2 separate regions of the Homo sapiens genome follow, and region 2 is linked to region 1. Evidence: promoter capture Hi-C in 16 types of primary human blood cells and fetal thymus (Javierre and others, 2016). All regions are on one chromosome and are shown on one strand. The core of a region is centred on a gene start or on the middle of the fragment in contact, and the rest is flanking DNA. Distances in the headings are between cores, read along the strand shown. Region 1 holds the start of TAGAP (T cell activation RhoGTPase activating protein). Region 2 has its middle 18 kb from the start of FNDC1.

The links. The method cuts DNA at HindIII sites, captures the fragments that hold promoters and counts their contacts. A CHiCAGO score of 5 or more calls a contact.
Region 2: a contact is called between a fragment that was not itself captured here and the fragment with the promoter of TAGAP in region 1, in 2 of 17 cell types (naive B cells and total B cells). The highest score is 7.5, in naive B cells.

What each region holds. Positions count from the first base shown.
Region 1 is chr6:159,040,322-159,047,943 of GRCh38, forward strand. It overlaps TAGAP (T cell activation RhoGTPase activating protein), which reads right to left and starts at 4,670. Exons shown (of 10, transcript NM_054114.5): 1 at 4,558-4,670; 2 at 3,799-3,883; 3 at 3,657-3,710; 4 at 3,268-3,334; 5 at 1,757-1,923; 6 at 1,033-1,194; 7 at 402-511. The coding sequence starts at 3,825. TAGAP-AS1 (TAGAP antisense RNA 1) reads left to right here. Exons shown (of 5, transcript NR_183546.1): 4 at 598-734; 5 at 1,477-2,735. RefSeq lists enhancers at 331-1,530, 2,104-2,373. The HindIII fragment of the contact is 8,846 bases long and covers 4,423-7,622 here.
Region 2 is chr6:159,147,590-159,154,775 of GRCh38, forward strand. No RefSeq gene overlaps it. Among named protein-coding and RNA genes, the nearest start is that of FNDC1, 18 kb to the right of the region's middle. The HindIII fragment of the contact is 6,680 bases long and covers 536-7,186 here.

The DNA of each region.
Region 1 (7,622 bases), core at 3,420-5,919:
AGAACTGTTGCCTTGCATGACACCAGTCAGTGTAGCTTAAAGATAATCCCGAATTTCTACACTTTGCTGGTGAGCCTGTGTTAAAGTTCTCAGGTCTGATTTTATCTCATACCTTTTTGAACATCTTACATTTTCAGACTTCCCTACCTCTTGGGATTTGTGAGGATTGAAGTTCGCTTTCTACTTTTTGAAGAAATATTTCATTTGGCTAAAATTAAAATTCAAAAGTCCAGGGCACCCTCTGGTTTTTGTTCTGGGAGTGGACGAGCAATTCCACTCGGATTCCCTAAACATCACAATTCTCATGGAACAGGGATCATGAAGCATTTAGAAAGCTGTGTAAAGAATCAAAAGACGGAGGTGATGTGGCCTGGCAATGACCGATGACTTTGATGACTTACTGTTTCAGGGCCTCGATTCTGTCCTCCTCGTCCTGCATCTCCAGAGCACCCATCCACTCCTCAAAGAGGTCGCTTGAAAGTAGCTTCCGGGGGATACTTCTGAGGAAGTCCTGGGGGATGAGAGTGGGCTGTTGGCCTATTGGTACTGTATGATGTCCCATGTCCTTGTTTTCACCCGGTTTTCGTTCCATCGCAGGGTGCTCTATGCTTAGCCCATCATAGATTGTGGCCCTTCATTCCTGCATTTGATGAATCCAGGGAACCCTCTCTCCAACACCCTTGGCCTCTCTGCAACTTTCTAACATCAGGCAGAGTCAGAGGCACCATCCCCAGGTGGGTGTGTTCTGAGGGGCCACTGGATTTTGACGTATGGATTCTGCCACGGAACAATCAAATTGCCCGTACTTGGCAAAGTTTTGGGAGAGCAGAATGCATCACTTTCTGTTGGAATCTGAGGTCACAGAAACAGAGGTGCTTACTAAATAAATAAATAAAGGGCTTAATGAAAAAAATTAAACTCCAAGATCAGTGTACCTTGCTGTGTGGGGAGAAGAGCCTATTTCTTGCATCCTGAGAATGAGTGTGTCAGGGCCCCTTGGCAGGTTATTTGGCGCAAGTGTGTTGAACTCACCTTAAAGACCACAGCGAGGAGGTGCACGGGGAGCCTCTCCAGATCCACCGCATCCCCAGAGTTGAGCTCCTCCTTCAGCTCCTTACGGGCTTTCTCGTTGGCTGCTCTCCTGAATATCCCTTCCGTTGAAGGGCCTTTAAGGCATAGAATAGTGAGAATGTCCTAAAGGAAACAGCAATAGGAACAGGAAAGGGTTACCCTTCTTCTTTAGTATACTGAGATAGTCTTAACAGGAATATTGATGTCAGATTTTGCTTTCAGTCCAGTTGCTGTCAATGGCCTTCCTCAACCCTGCTATTTTTCTAAGAGGAGGCAAATTGTGAAAGCTCTAATTTTGCACTTTCTAAAATCACTTTGGAGCTCTCTCCTTTCAAATACTTCCATATGAACATTGGATTTCAGATCACAAAGTCTATATTCTGTTTCCCCCTTTTGACTTTTCAGAAGCTACAAATCTTCAGCATTCTCCACTCTGTGAAGTCAGAGGAATGGCGGGACCATAGCTCTGAGCTCATTGGCAAATACAACTAATTTCAATTTCTGGAATGGAAGCAGTCAGATATTCTTCTGACTGCACGCGTATGTGGGAGTGCCATGTTGAAGAGTGGAAAATATGGAAGATCAGTCCCTACAAACTTAATAGGAGAATGACATTCAGATTTCCCGAGTATTTTGCATGTCCAACTGAAAACTGAAGTAGGTTTATGAGAGAATGCACGCCTACCTGGATGGGTCTGGGGAGTGTGTCACTGTCACCGCAGATAATTGACAAGGGCTGATCAAATAGCGATGCTTTCAAGTCTGTCTCCAAAGCCCCAGAAAAATCTGATGCAGGGGAGAGCCTTCTCATGAGAAAGGGCCAGGACAGCACCTTCTTTCTCTTCTTAACTTCTACAGCCAAGAAAACAAGGCAACGAGAAAAATTAGACTACAGTGTTAAGAAGCAAAGATCCAGGTAAGAAAATGGGTATCGTTGGCCGCATAATGTGGTCAATAGTATGCGATGTGAGAAAAATAATTTTGAAAACTTGAGAAAGCAAAGGGCGTGAATCTTAATCTAGAAAAACCAACCGATAAACAACCACACTGTTACCAGGGCAACCAGTTCCCTAAACAGCAACACCAGAGTTCCTCAAGGCCTCCACCTTTCCTGTTTTCACTCTTTCCAGCTGTTTGCTACAGAAAATTAGCAAAACCTAACTGTGCTGATCATAAACAACCATCTTAACCTACTGGCCTGAATAACTATAGAGGAAATTTCTGATATGAAATAGATTATTTTGATTTCCTCCTTTAACTGGCGAAGAAAACGAAACTTAAAAGGTGAGGAAGTGACTTGCTGAATATCTTTTCGAAGGCACATAGCAGGGCTGGCTCCAACCCTTTGCAGCCACGCAGGCACTAAACAGCCACTAGAGGGAGCTAACACCATTTTTCCTTCCAGGTGACTGGTCACCTTGGGTTTTCCAGGTTGCTGCTTTAGGACAGAGGCAAATACGAATCGCTGCGGGAAGCCTTGAACCTAGATCTGGCAACTGGGAATTATCAGCAAAACGTTATCAAGATATTCTGTCCTTCTGAAATCCACAAGATGTGTGTGCAATGGATATTGCAATCTCAAACATTTCCTTCTTTCTTTTCTTTTCCTTCCTTCCTTCCTTCTCCTTTCTTACTAATTATAAAGGCTATATTTTCTAAATGCATTGGCATCTGTTTCTATACATTTCAGATTGGCAAGTGGAAGCATGATGAGAAAGAAGTGGCCTGTCTTTATGGTTCAGGAGAACTGGGTCAGGGTTACGCTATAATGAAATGCATTATGAAAAAAGTTGAGAGTGAATGGTGGGTCCTTTGGGATTTGAGATCAGCAACAGTTGCTTCATAGGCTCTTGGATGCATTCTCCATAAGAGAAGGAAGAAAATGGAAAAGACACTGTGTGTTTTTCAAATGTGTGCATGCTAATTGTCGAAACATACATGGCCAGGAGATTGAACCGCATTAAAAACGCTTGGCAGAACTGGGGATTCTCTATGGAGAGGCTCTTTCCTTTCCCAGCACTCCCTGCTCTAGTGAGTTGGAGCATACCTGCCATTTAAGGGTTAATGTTCTGCGGTCTTTAACAGAACAACTTATACAAAAAAATTCCTAGTAGAGTAAAAGCGCTGTGGTTTTGCAAACCAAGAGCACTGGTTGTTAGCACTTACATAAAAGATCGGTATGTTTTTAAAACTCACCAATGAGCTGGCAAATACTGTCTTCACTCTCACATGATGCCAACAGGGGATGTTCCTTGATATCACCCTAAAAACATTTTTATTTCAGTTAAATATAGTGACTGAAGAAACCTATCGAGTCTTTCCCCACAAAACACACATACAGCATTTTATTCATATTAAAAATGAAGTCAGTAGAGTGCATTGATGTTTTTTCTAGCTTCTAGAAGCAATATTAAGGTCTTGATTGTCATCATATAAGATCCTAATTAATGTGCTTAATTTACTACATGTGTGATGTTAGTTTACTACTCTTATAATTACTATTCAACCCAAATAATATTCAATTAAAACAAAGTTTTCCACCTTCTCACAGTACAGATAAAAAGTCTTAAAAATTGCTTTCTTACCTCTGATTGACATTCGATTAGTGTCTCCATATTATTGGCGTTTAGTGTTTTTGACTAAAAGAGAAAAAATAAAATTAGGTAAATATCTTTTGGCCCTTGCCTGTAGGAAACGTGAATGAATGAATGTGAGAGGGGCACTCACAGCATTGTGGCTGCTTCTCAGCTTCATCAGTATTGCGGCTGACTGTCCAGGGGTGGATTTCACTCCCGTGTGGCTGTGCCTCTGTCTACAACGAATCACATGGAAAGGAGTTAGGAGGGACTCACACAGTAGGCCACTTTCAGCGCCACTTTGCCAAAGCACAGAGTTTGAAACTATTTATTTATTTTTCTCTTTTGCTATTTTTTCACTTGCCTTTACTTTGGAAAAAACTATTACATAGACAAGTTTTCATTTAAAATCAGTTCTGTTACCAGATGTTGTATGTTGTTAAGAGCAGCATCTGAACACAATTATTTCTAAATTATTTAAGTCAACTATCTTTACCACTCTAAACGTTGTTACCAATTTATTCCGTTCCATCAAGAGATAATCTGGATATCAATTACGTTAACATTTTAAATTAACATGAACATTAACTTTTTTGGTGGAGTGCTGACTATATGCCAGCTGTCGTAGTAGGTGCTTTGCATGGATTTTCTCATCTAATCCAAAAAGGAAAAAAAAAAAAACATATCCCTAGGATGCTAAAATAGTAAACATGAAACAAAGATAACATTTACAGAACTCCTACACCAAAAAGGTGCAGCCTTCACGTTGAAGCAAAGCTTTGTCCTGAGACTTTATAAAGTGAGAGCATATTCCACGGGATAGCTGTTTTCTGTTGCCTGTGATCTGAGTGACCTGTGACTTGCGAGGCAGCTTGTAATTTCTAGGCATGTTAATATATAGTGTACTTACCCTTGGAGGGTCTCTAGCCAGAGTTCTTTTACATCCGGTGAGCTGTAAAGAATGGGAGAAACAGCATAACTCTCTGCTCCTTCTAGTCCACTGGGAGAGAGAGAGACCGAGCCGGTCTCCCTTCACATGCTCTGCATTATAAGCGAAGGGGCGGGCAGGTGGAAATTCAGAATATTACAGAGACCGGAAAGAACATCATGGGCTGTCACACGGACGGAGCCAGCCAGACACTGGAGAGCTCTCGCTTCCTCATTCCTTTTAGGGCAGCTATGTCTTTTTTTTTTTTTTTTTTTTTTTTTTTTTTTGTGTCTTCCACTTCAAAGTAAAAAATCTGTAAACTACTAGGAGTGGAAAACATGACATTCAGCCCATAGGTGAAGGCTCTGATTAATGTCATAGGTGGGATGTGTGAACAAGAAATTGTGTTATTCTGTGCATAAACATCACTTTATTTTCTAAAGTGGTAATTTCAAGTGCCTCTTTTTGCATCCTGTTTGGGTGCTCTTTCCCCTCCCACGTGCCATCTGCTCTGTCCACCAGCACCACACGTTGATTAGCACCCCTGGATGTGGGACACTGTTACAGAACCAGAAAGAAACCCAAGACAGTCCCTTCCTTGAGGAACAATCACCGTCCAAAGCCAGGTTAGTTTCCTTTGGAAGTAGAAAGAAAACTCCCTCGAGTCAGTTGTCAATATAGTAACCCCCTCCTCCTTTCTGTAACTCCTGGTCAAAAGTATTGATACTTAATTTACAGTCAGAGCAGCTGTCGTTCTGACACGGAAGGAAAACAAACAAAAAAATTCCTTTGATCAGACCAACTTAAAGTAGGAAAGAGATGGTGAATTTCATTTGTGGATCACTCTTCTGCATAAGAGAATTTCTGATCTTTTCTGTAGATCAAGGGCTATATATGAAACCACTCAAATGCCTCGACACGAGAATGGATGCATAAATTGTGATCCATTCACATAGGGAATGAATGTTGTATAGCACTGATAATGAACAGCCTATGACTATAGCCAACAATATGGTTGGATCTCATAATATGACGCTGAGCAAAAGAAGCCAGACGTGAAAGTGTATATCCTGCCGGCTCCCATTAATGCAAAGCACAAAATTAGCAAAAGTCGTCTGTGCTGTTGGAAGCAAGAGTAGCAGTTTCCCAGAGGGGATGGTAATGACTTCCAGGGGCCAGCGGGGGGCTTGGTGATGGTCCATTCTTGATCTGGGTGGTGCTAGGCTTATGTGCACACTTCCCTATTTATGTAATTTTTCAATAAAAAGTTTTAAAATAACTTGGCTTCATTTATCATCAGCATCTTTAATTTTAAGACTTTTCCGCATTGTCAGTTCTTTTGTCATTTTACTGAAAGGAGGTGATTATGGGGCAGACTTTGGGAAACCGAAGCACAGAGAGGTCGAAATTTGCTCTGTAACTTAGCGGCTCGGTGGGGACCTAGGGACAGATCCTGGTTTTCAGGCTTCCAGCTGGGGGCTCCCTCTCTGAAAGCCACCACAGTGCCAGAGTTCACCCAGTGTTCCCAGGGCAGCTGTAGAGGCCACCACTCTTTCAGCATCCCTCTCCTGCCTTTATAAACCTCCAAAGTGAACTCACTGATTTTTTTAATTGAAAAAGGGCATTTACGCTGTGCCCAGCCTAGTGCTAGGCATATAGTAGGTACTAAATAACTAATTTCTGAATATATACATTTCCTTATAAAATAGCCAAAATAGAATATTACTATAATGTTCTATATATCATAGAATATATATGTGATGTATATTCATTGCTAGTATGTATTTTCTAAACTTTTTTTTTTCCCGACAAACGGACTTTTCAAATTTTTGTAAGAAACTTAATGTACTTACTGTTCTTTCTTTTTTTTTTTTTTTGAGATGGAGTTTCGCTCTTGTCACCCAGGCTGGAGTGCAATGGCGTGATCTCGGCTCACTGCAACCTCTGCCTCCTGGGTTCAAGTGATTCTCCTGTCTCAACCTCCTGAGTAGTTGGAATTACAGGCACGCGCCACCATACCTGGCTAATTTTTGTATTTTTAGTAGAGATGGGGTTTCGCCATGTTGGCCAGGCTGGTCTGGAAATCCTGACCTCAGGTGATCCACCCATCTTGGCCTCCCAAAGTGCTGGGATTACAGATGTGAGCCACTGTGCCCAGCCTCAGCATCTTTTAAAAATACATAACATGAATGGTTTGATGACCTGCAGAAATGGTTACATCGACGGACTTTTCTTTTTCTTCTGGGACCTACCATGCCTAGTTAAGCACCCAGGGAACTATCTAGGATGAAAAGTTAGTAGCAAATACGGCAACAGAATTAGGGCCCCTCCATTTTTTGAAACAGAAATATGTTTTGGCTCTTCTTATTGACACAACTGATGGTGGGAAAGCCCAGAGGGAGGTGCCATCCTTTGGGGTCCCTGGGAGATTTTGACAGTCAACATCTAATGAATAGGTACATTTTGTGACTGAAGGAAAGCCACCATTGTTGGCTGGTGCTGCTGGGGGACTGAGGAGACGTTCTCCTTTATGACTGTGGCCCCGCCTGCATATGGCGCCTACTGTGGAAAGAGAAAGAGTTGTGAAGGGCAGGTGCTGCACCCTCAACTCTGAAAATCTCACAGTAATTTTGATCGCAGTTTTCCGAGCACTAGGAGAAACATTTATAAATAAAGTGTAAAATTTGGAAGCAGTCATGCCAAAAGTTAGAAAAAAAGATGGAAATGTCAGATTCACTTTTTCCATATTCTTGTCTCCCACACATCTCTTTGAAAAGCAAGCTCTCATCGTCCTGCATAGTAAGAGTCTTCAGAACGTGGAAAGGAACTTCAGTGGCTTTTGCTGGGTTGGGCTGAAGGAAACCCCGGTGAAACCCACACCTGTAAAGATGCTTCTCACAGTGGGACTTTTATCGCTTGGGTCCTGGTCACAATCAATTTTTCTGCAAATAATTGGCTTTGCTTTTCTTGTGGTGAGTCTCTAAGGACAGTGAGTTCCGTTCTGGGGACTGTGAGTTCTATGCTGTGTACATGTGTGCTTTGGAGGG
Region 2 (7,186 bases), core at 2,626-5,125, 110 kb after region 1:
TTCACTATCATGAGAACAGGAAGGGGGAAATCTGCCCCCATGATCAAATCGCCTCCCACCAGGCCCCTCCTCCAACATTGGGGATTACAATTCAACATGAGATTTGGGTGGGGACACAAATCCAAAGCATATCATAAACCATCTTTGTGGATTATAGCTGAAGTTTGAAATTAGAGAGGTTTCCTAAGGAGAGTGTAGACTTTTCCATTATAAGTTTAAAAATCAGAATAGGTCATCTTTTCTCTGAATTGCAAACTATCAAAAACTAAAGTACAGCTTATTATCGTTATGCGTGGTAGTTATGGTTTATACATTTGCTATGAACACTGAATTAGCAAATACTGAAGCTTGGCTCCTGGGGGAAATACAGGGTTAGGTTCCCGTGAATCGCTGATCACAACATTTTCATCAAGCCATCAATATATACCCTTTTCTAAGTGTGTGTTTATGTTTAAAGACATTTTATTTAACATACGTCGTGGATGCATTAACATAGAGCTCATTGCCAACAGCGCTGTAACTCACGCCTGAATGAAGCTTCTCTAACACACGTATTTTCTCCATAAGGCACAGCACTGCATTCTTGCACTTAGGGACGCTAGACAGCACTTCAGCACGATCTTGGGGGCCATTTTAAACAGCGAAATCACCAACAATGACCACAAAAATTGTGAAAACCATAGCGGTAAAGAAATAGTGAAAAGGACACTTGTTTACACTGTCAGAGCTGGGACAAGAAGGCAGGGTGTCACCTTGTTAGACTTCAGCCGAGAACGTGCCAGTTGGGTGATTCATATTTTGCACCACTCTGCTCATGTCTGAGAATGACCTCGAAAGCACCATGGGCACTGATTTGGGGTCACAATTCAATTCTATAAAGTAGGCTAATTCGCAAATCAGAACCATGAATAATGAGGACCCAGTGTACTTGTGTGATGGTTAATATTGAGTGTCAACTTGATTGGATTGAAGGATGCAAAGTATTGTTCCTGGGTGTGTCTGTGAGGGTGTTGCCAAAGGAGATTAACATTTGAGTCAGTGGACTGGGAGAGGCAGACCCACCCTCAGTCTGGGTGGGCACCTTCTAATCAGCTGCCAGCTTGGCCAGAATAAAGCAGGCAGAAGAACGTGGGAAGACTGGACTGGTTTAGTGTTCTGGCCTCCATCTTTCTCCCGTGCTGGATGCTTCCTGCCCTTGAGCATTGGACTCCAAATTCCTCAGCTTTGGAACTCTTGGACCTTTGGCCACAGACTGAAGGCTGCACTGTCGGCTTCTCTGCTTTTGAGATTTTGGGACTTGGACTGGCTTCCTTGCTCCTCAGTTTGCAGACGGCCCGTTGTGGGACCTCACCTTGTGATGGTGTGAATCAATACGCCTTAATAAACTCCCCTTTATATACACATCTATCCTATTAGTTCTGCCCCTCTGAAGAACACTGACTAATACAACTTGTATGAGAAGACAACTGGCATTGTTCACTGCCCACTTCTGGCTAAAACACTTAGGTTTAGGAGATCATGTGTGGATTTACCCGTCGTAGATATTTGAGCTATTGGGAAGTAAACTGGGAAATAAACTGGCCTAAAGTAGTTTGGTCAAGTTCAACCAAAGTTTGCTCTTATGTATTTCTTACCATTTAAGAAATAGAATTCTGGGTGTTCAAAGTAGATTAAACATTAGCTATTTTAACAAACAGTCCCAAGATCTAAGTGACCTACTATAATAAGGTGTATTTCTTGTTCATATCAGATTGTAATGCAGGACAGAGTGAGGGGTGTTTTGGGACTTAGGGTCCTTCCTCCTGTTAGCTCGGCTGTCCCCAAGGGCCTCAGAGTCTGCTGCTGGATTTTCTCCATTCTACAGGCTGACCACCAGAAGCATGGACAGTCCTGTGGATGTTTTACCAGCCAGGACTGGAAGTAATGTATGCCACTTTCATTACACTCCACTGGCCAGAACTCAAACTCAGTCACATTCCCCACTGAGCTAAATGCAAGGGGTCTGAGAAATACAGGAGGTTCCCAAGTCTAGGTGCATGTTCCCTCTTGCTGCGGTAACACATTGCTACAATCGCAGGGGCTTCAAACAACACAAATGTTTCCTCTTACAATTCTGGAGGCCAGAAGCCCAAAACGCATCTCACGGGACTAAATTCTAATGGGATTGCCAACCCTGAGAATCCACGTGGGTGAGACTCTTGAAGAAGAGCAGGGAAGGCGCCAGCCATCTGAAGCAAGCATTCAGCCAGCATCATGTAAAGCCCTGTGGAATATTTCCCAGAGAGGCCTCTAGAAACTCACAGAGGCACGCATGAGAGTGAAGCAAGCCTAAAACATTTCCAGCTGGGCAAGAACATTCCTGTTCCTGTTCTTCCTACTCCTTTTCCTACCTTGACTCTGGAAGGGTCTGGAAAAATCAAAGGAAAGAAGAGAAGGCTTCGCACTCTGCAGTCTTCCAGGTACAGCGGGCTCCAGCTGGGCGGTGGCAGAATATCCAATTTTAAATCCTTTGGAATTTTTACTATTACATACGACTTTTTTTTTTTTTGAGACAGAGTCTCACTCTGTCGCCCAGGCTGGAGTGCAGTGGCGTGATCTCAGCTCACTGCAACCTCCACCTCCCGGGTTCAAGCAATTCTCCTGCTTCAGCCTCTTGAGTAGCTGGGATTACAGGCATGCACCACCGCACCCAGCTAATTTTTGTATTCTTAGTAGAGATGGGGTTTCGCCATGTTGGCCAGGCTGGTCTGGAACTCCTGACCTGGTGATCCGCCCACCTCGGCCTCCCAAAGTGCTGGGATTACAGGCATGAGACACTGCGCCCAGCCTATTACATAGGATTTGACATTTTTAGTCACGGAATTGACACAGTGTTTCTAACTTAGAGCAACCTTAGAATTTATTTATTACTCACAAATTCACAGGAGTCGTGACACTGCCTGAGTTTCCTCCCTGAGTCGGGAAGAACTTTTCCCACTCCCACTGTACATATTTTAAAGAAACAGTGAAAGATAAAAATAAGGAAGTTTCCTTATTAGATCTCATGAGTTTTCCTGTTCAATGTGTATCCTTTATAGTTCTACAGAAACATGTTTAGGCTTCACAAGCTCTTCTGAAACTTCCTTTATCCACCTGCTGATATGCATTCGAGAGCTTCCTGCATCCGTGTAACTTCAGTCCATTGACTTTAGTGGCTCTCAGAATTCTACAGTCTGGATGGACAATACTTTACTTAACTACTGCTTTATTGATGTGACTCTGTATTCTTTTTACTTTTATTATTAAAAGTAATATTGCAAAAATACTATCCATCATCTGTGTGACAGCCATATTCTTTGAACACTGCGTGTTTTCTGTTTTTTACTTAATTTAGCCAGAGTGTGTCTCTATTGTTTGCCAGTGATATAAAGGTTTCTCAAAGCGGGTAAACCTTGGGCTGAGTCTTTAAGGGTGAATAGGTGTTTCAAGCAGCCCAGGACAGGTGCAGAGGGGGTGGGATCATAAAACACGTGATGAAACCAGTGTTGGTTCTGAATGTCCCCAATCCCTCTAATTGTTCTCTAATTAGAAGGATTTGTCAAAATATTAAATGAACATGTTCTTTATATCTGAGGTAGCAAGTTGGACTTCTACCAGCGGTCTGAAAAGTCACTGGAGTGGAACTGCTATATTGCAAAGAAGATTGAGCAAGTGTTGTTTTTATCTGCCTGTCTTCCATTCTCTCTCTTTCTGATAATAACACCTCCATTTTCTTTTGGGGGAAATGGAGATGTAATAAGAAAATATCTCTAATTTTTGTCTTCTGCTTTTCTGTTGACACAAATCCATGTGGTTTGTGCTTGTCCGGCGTCCAGAAAACTCTGTACGCCGCCCTCTTGTGGAGAAGGGAGGTCATGCCACCCAAACTAACCCAATCAGATGCTTCCTCCTGGGAACTTGAATTTTTAAGAAACACAAAAATGGAAAATTATTGGAAATGATTTGTCCAGAAAGAGGTGCCTTAGAGAAATTGGCAACTGTTTCTGCCCTAGAGCTTTTCTGATCTTGTTTTTCTGGAGACCTTGTTATTCAGCCTTTTCTTTAATCCAGGGAGCTCTTCCATATTTTTCAAATATCCTGAGTTTTTTGTTTGTTTTTTACTTCATTTAGCCGGAGTGTGTCTCTATTGTTTGCCAATGATCTAAAGGATATGTTCGTTTAGTATTTTGACAAATACCTCTAATTGTCTTCCAATCGGAGGTAGCATTTGTATTTCTACCCACAATTGGAAGCGTCTGGGCTTCATTTTTATTTTGATTTGTTTTAAATAGTTCTGTTGTGTTATGAACAGAGAGTCTCCTCTATTCAATCTTCCTAATACAATACCACTTCAATTTCCCGATAGAGTGATGTTGCTTACTTCCAAGTGAGAGAAATGCTGCTTGCTGTAGTGGGTTGGCCAACAAATAAATTATTTATTATTGCCAAAAAAACAACTGGTTTATATTAACTTGCCAGAGGCATAACTGATAAAATGATCTAGTGTCAAATTAATTTCATTTATAAGTGAAGTGATTCGTAAGGATGTGAGCCACAAACTTGGACACTAAGTATTCCAAAACCAAGCATTCTTACATGATCACCTTAGCAACTGTAAATAATGACATCACCAGCAAATACCAGCAAAAGAATGGACAGGCATGATACAAAAAGCTCCTTTAATTAACATCATGTTTGCCAATTACTTTATTCTTAGGTAAACCATCTGTAAAAGTAGCATAATTTGTGATTTGAATTGAAGGCATGTGAAAAAGAACTCAGATTCTCTAACTGGGCAAGTAACATCACTAAAGTAATGTCCTGTGTGCACAGAGGGCTCCTTGCCTGTGTGGAAAAAAGTGTCTAGGTGATTTTTGGAAAATCTAAATAAAGCAAAGATGAACATAAGTAAAGATGAACCACAGCGAGTACACAATCACCAACAACTGTGTGTACTGGAGACAGTGTGAAGAGATGAAGCCATGCCCACACCCAACTTCTTGAAACATTTCCTGTAAAATGAATAAAGGAAAACATTTACACATTTGATTTTTGTCTCCTCACTTCACCTACCTTGGTTGAGATTAAAAGAAAATGGAAATTGTCCAGAGGAGAGAGATTCATAGTATTGAAACGAGGACTTTTCAAGGTTTTGCATAGGAGTGTTGCTGAAAATCTTTGACAGCCAATAAATAATGGTAATGTAATGTCAATAAATATATGAAGCAAAATTAAATCAATAACCCCCATATGGTTACAGGATGTTTTATAGGATCTCAGAAAGGAAGATTACTTAAGTAAATAAAGTTGTGTTGTTTTGTTACTAAGATACGTGGAAAAGATTGTCTTTCATGTGCCAAGCAATGCAACGGACAGAAGGAGAAACTGCCAAAGGCCTGAAATAGATAAAAGCTCCTTGCCAAGGCCTCCAGTGTGGAATAGACCTCAGGATAGTGGACATCCATGCTTCTCATATTTCACAATTAAGAGTGATGTTTGCCCTTGGTTCTTTGTGGATGCTATTCATCAGTTTATGAAATCTCTCTTGTGTTTTCAGTTTAAGAATTTTTTTTAAGATGTTGAATTTTATCAAATAGTTTTTGTGCGTCAAATGAGAAGACCGTATGGTTATTCTCTATCATTCTATTAAATGTGGTAAATTACATTTATTCTAATATTAAACCTCTTCTGAATTCCTGGGATAGAGCAAATTTGGACAAGATTAGACTTGGCTGCATTTGGTTGTTAATGCTGTTTAGAATTGTTGTATCAATGTTTATCAGTTAATCGTCTGTAATTTTCCTTCATCATATCATCTTTGTCTGGTTTTGGCATCAAGGCTATATTAACCTCACAAGAATGCTACAAGGGGATTGTTTAGTTTTTCTAAATGAAATGTTCTAATCTTTCCAGATGATTGGAACAATTTTTATTGAAAGGTTTTTAGAATTTGTCCATAAAGTTTTCTGGGCCTTCTATTTTCTTTATAGGAAGATTTTAAACTACTAATTACATTTCTTTAATAATTGCAGGACCGATTGGTCATTCCCATTGTTTTAAAGTCAAATTTTGTAGGTTATAATTTTCCAGGAATTTATTTATTTTATATGAATTTTCAAATTTATTAACATAACATTTGATAAGCAGATGAGGTAATTATGATAGGTAGACAAAATAAGTATGATAATTCATAGCAATCTTCTTTTCTTTTTCTTTTTCCTTTTTTTAAGATGGAGTCTCACTCTTTTTGCCCAGGCTGGAGTGCAGCGGTGTGATCTCCGCTCACTGCAACTCTGCCTCCCAGGTTCAAGCAATTCTCCTGCCTCAGCCTCCCAAGTAGCTGGGATTACAGGCATGTGACACCACGCCCGGCTAATTTTTGTATTTTTAGTAGAGGTGGAGTTTCACCATGTTGGTCACGCTGGTCTCTAACCCAACTCGTGACCTCAGGTGATCCGCCCCCCTCGGCCTCCCAAAGTGCTGGGATTACAGGCAAGAGCCACCACGCCTGGCCTTTTCTTTTTAATATCTACTGTTTGTGTAGTTGTGTCTCTTTAAATCTTACTACTCTTCATTTGTGCATTCTATCTTTTTAAAAAATAAATATCATTAAATATATGGCAATTATATTAGTCTTAGCTAAGAACCATTTTTTTTGCATTACGCCCTCCATGGTACCTTTGTGTTCCTTTTCACTAATGTCTGCTAGTATCTTAATTATCTCCTTCCTTTTTTTTTTTAAAAAAAAGAGTTTGTTATCTTCCCCTAACTTTTTAACGGGGTATTCAGCTTATTTTCAATCCTTTATTTTTAAATACAAGGTATATTTAAGGCTAATATATAGCCTTACATTTAAGGCTTTATATTTCCCTCATATATAAATATTAAGGCTATATATTTTCTACTTTTGCAATATCCTACCAGTTATGATACGTACAAGATTTATTATTGTTCAGTTCTGAGCATTTAAAAGTTTGTGTTATGATTTTGTCTATGTTTGATTTCTGAAAATATATTTTAAATTTTGATTTTTAAGTCTGACTTCATTGCACTATAGTGAGAGAACATAGTCTAGATGTATAATTTTTTTTTTGAAATTTGATATGGCTTTTTTATAGCCTAATTTATAACCAATTTTTATAAATGTTCCATGTGTGCTTGAGAACAG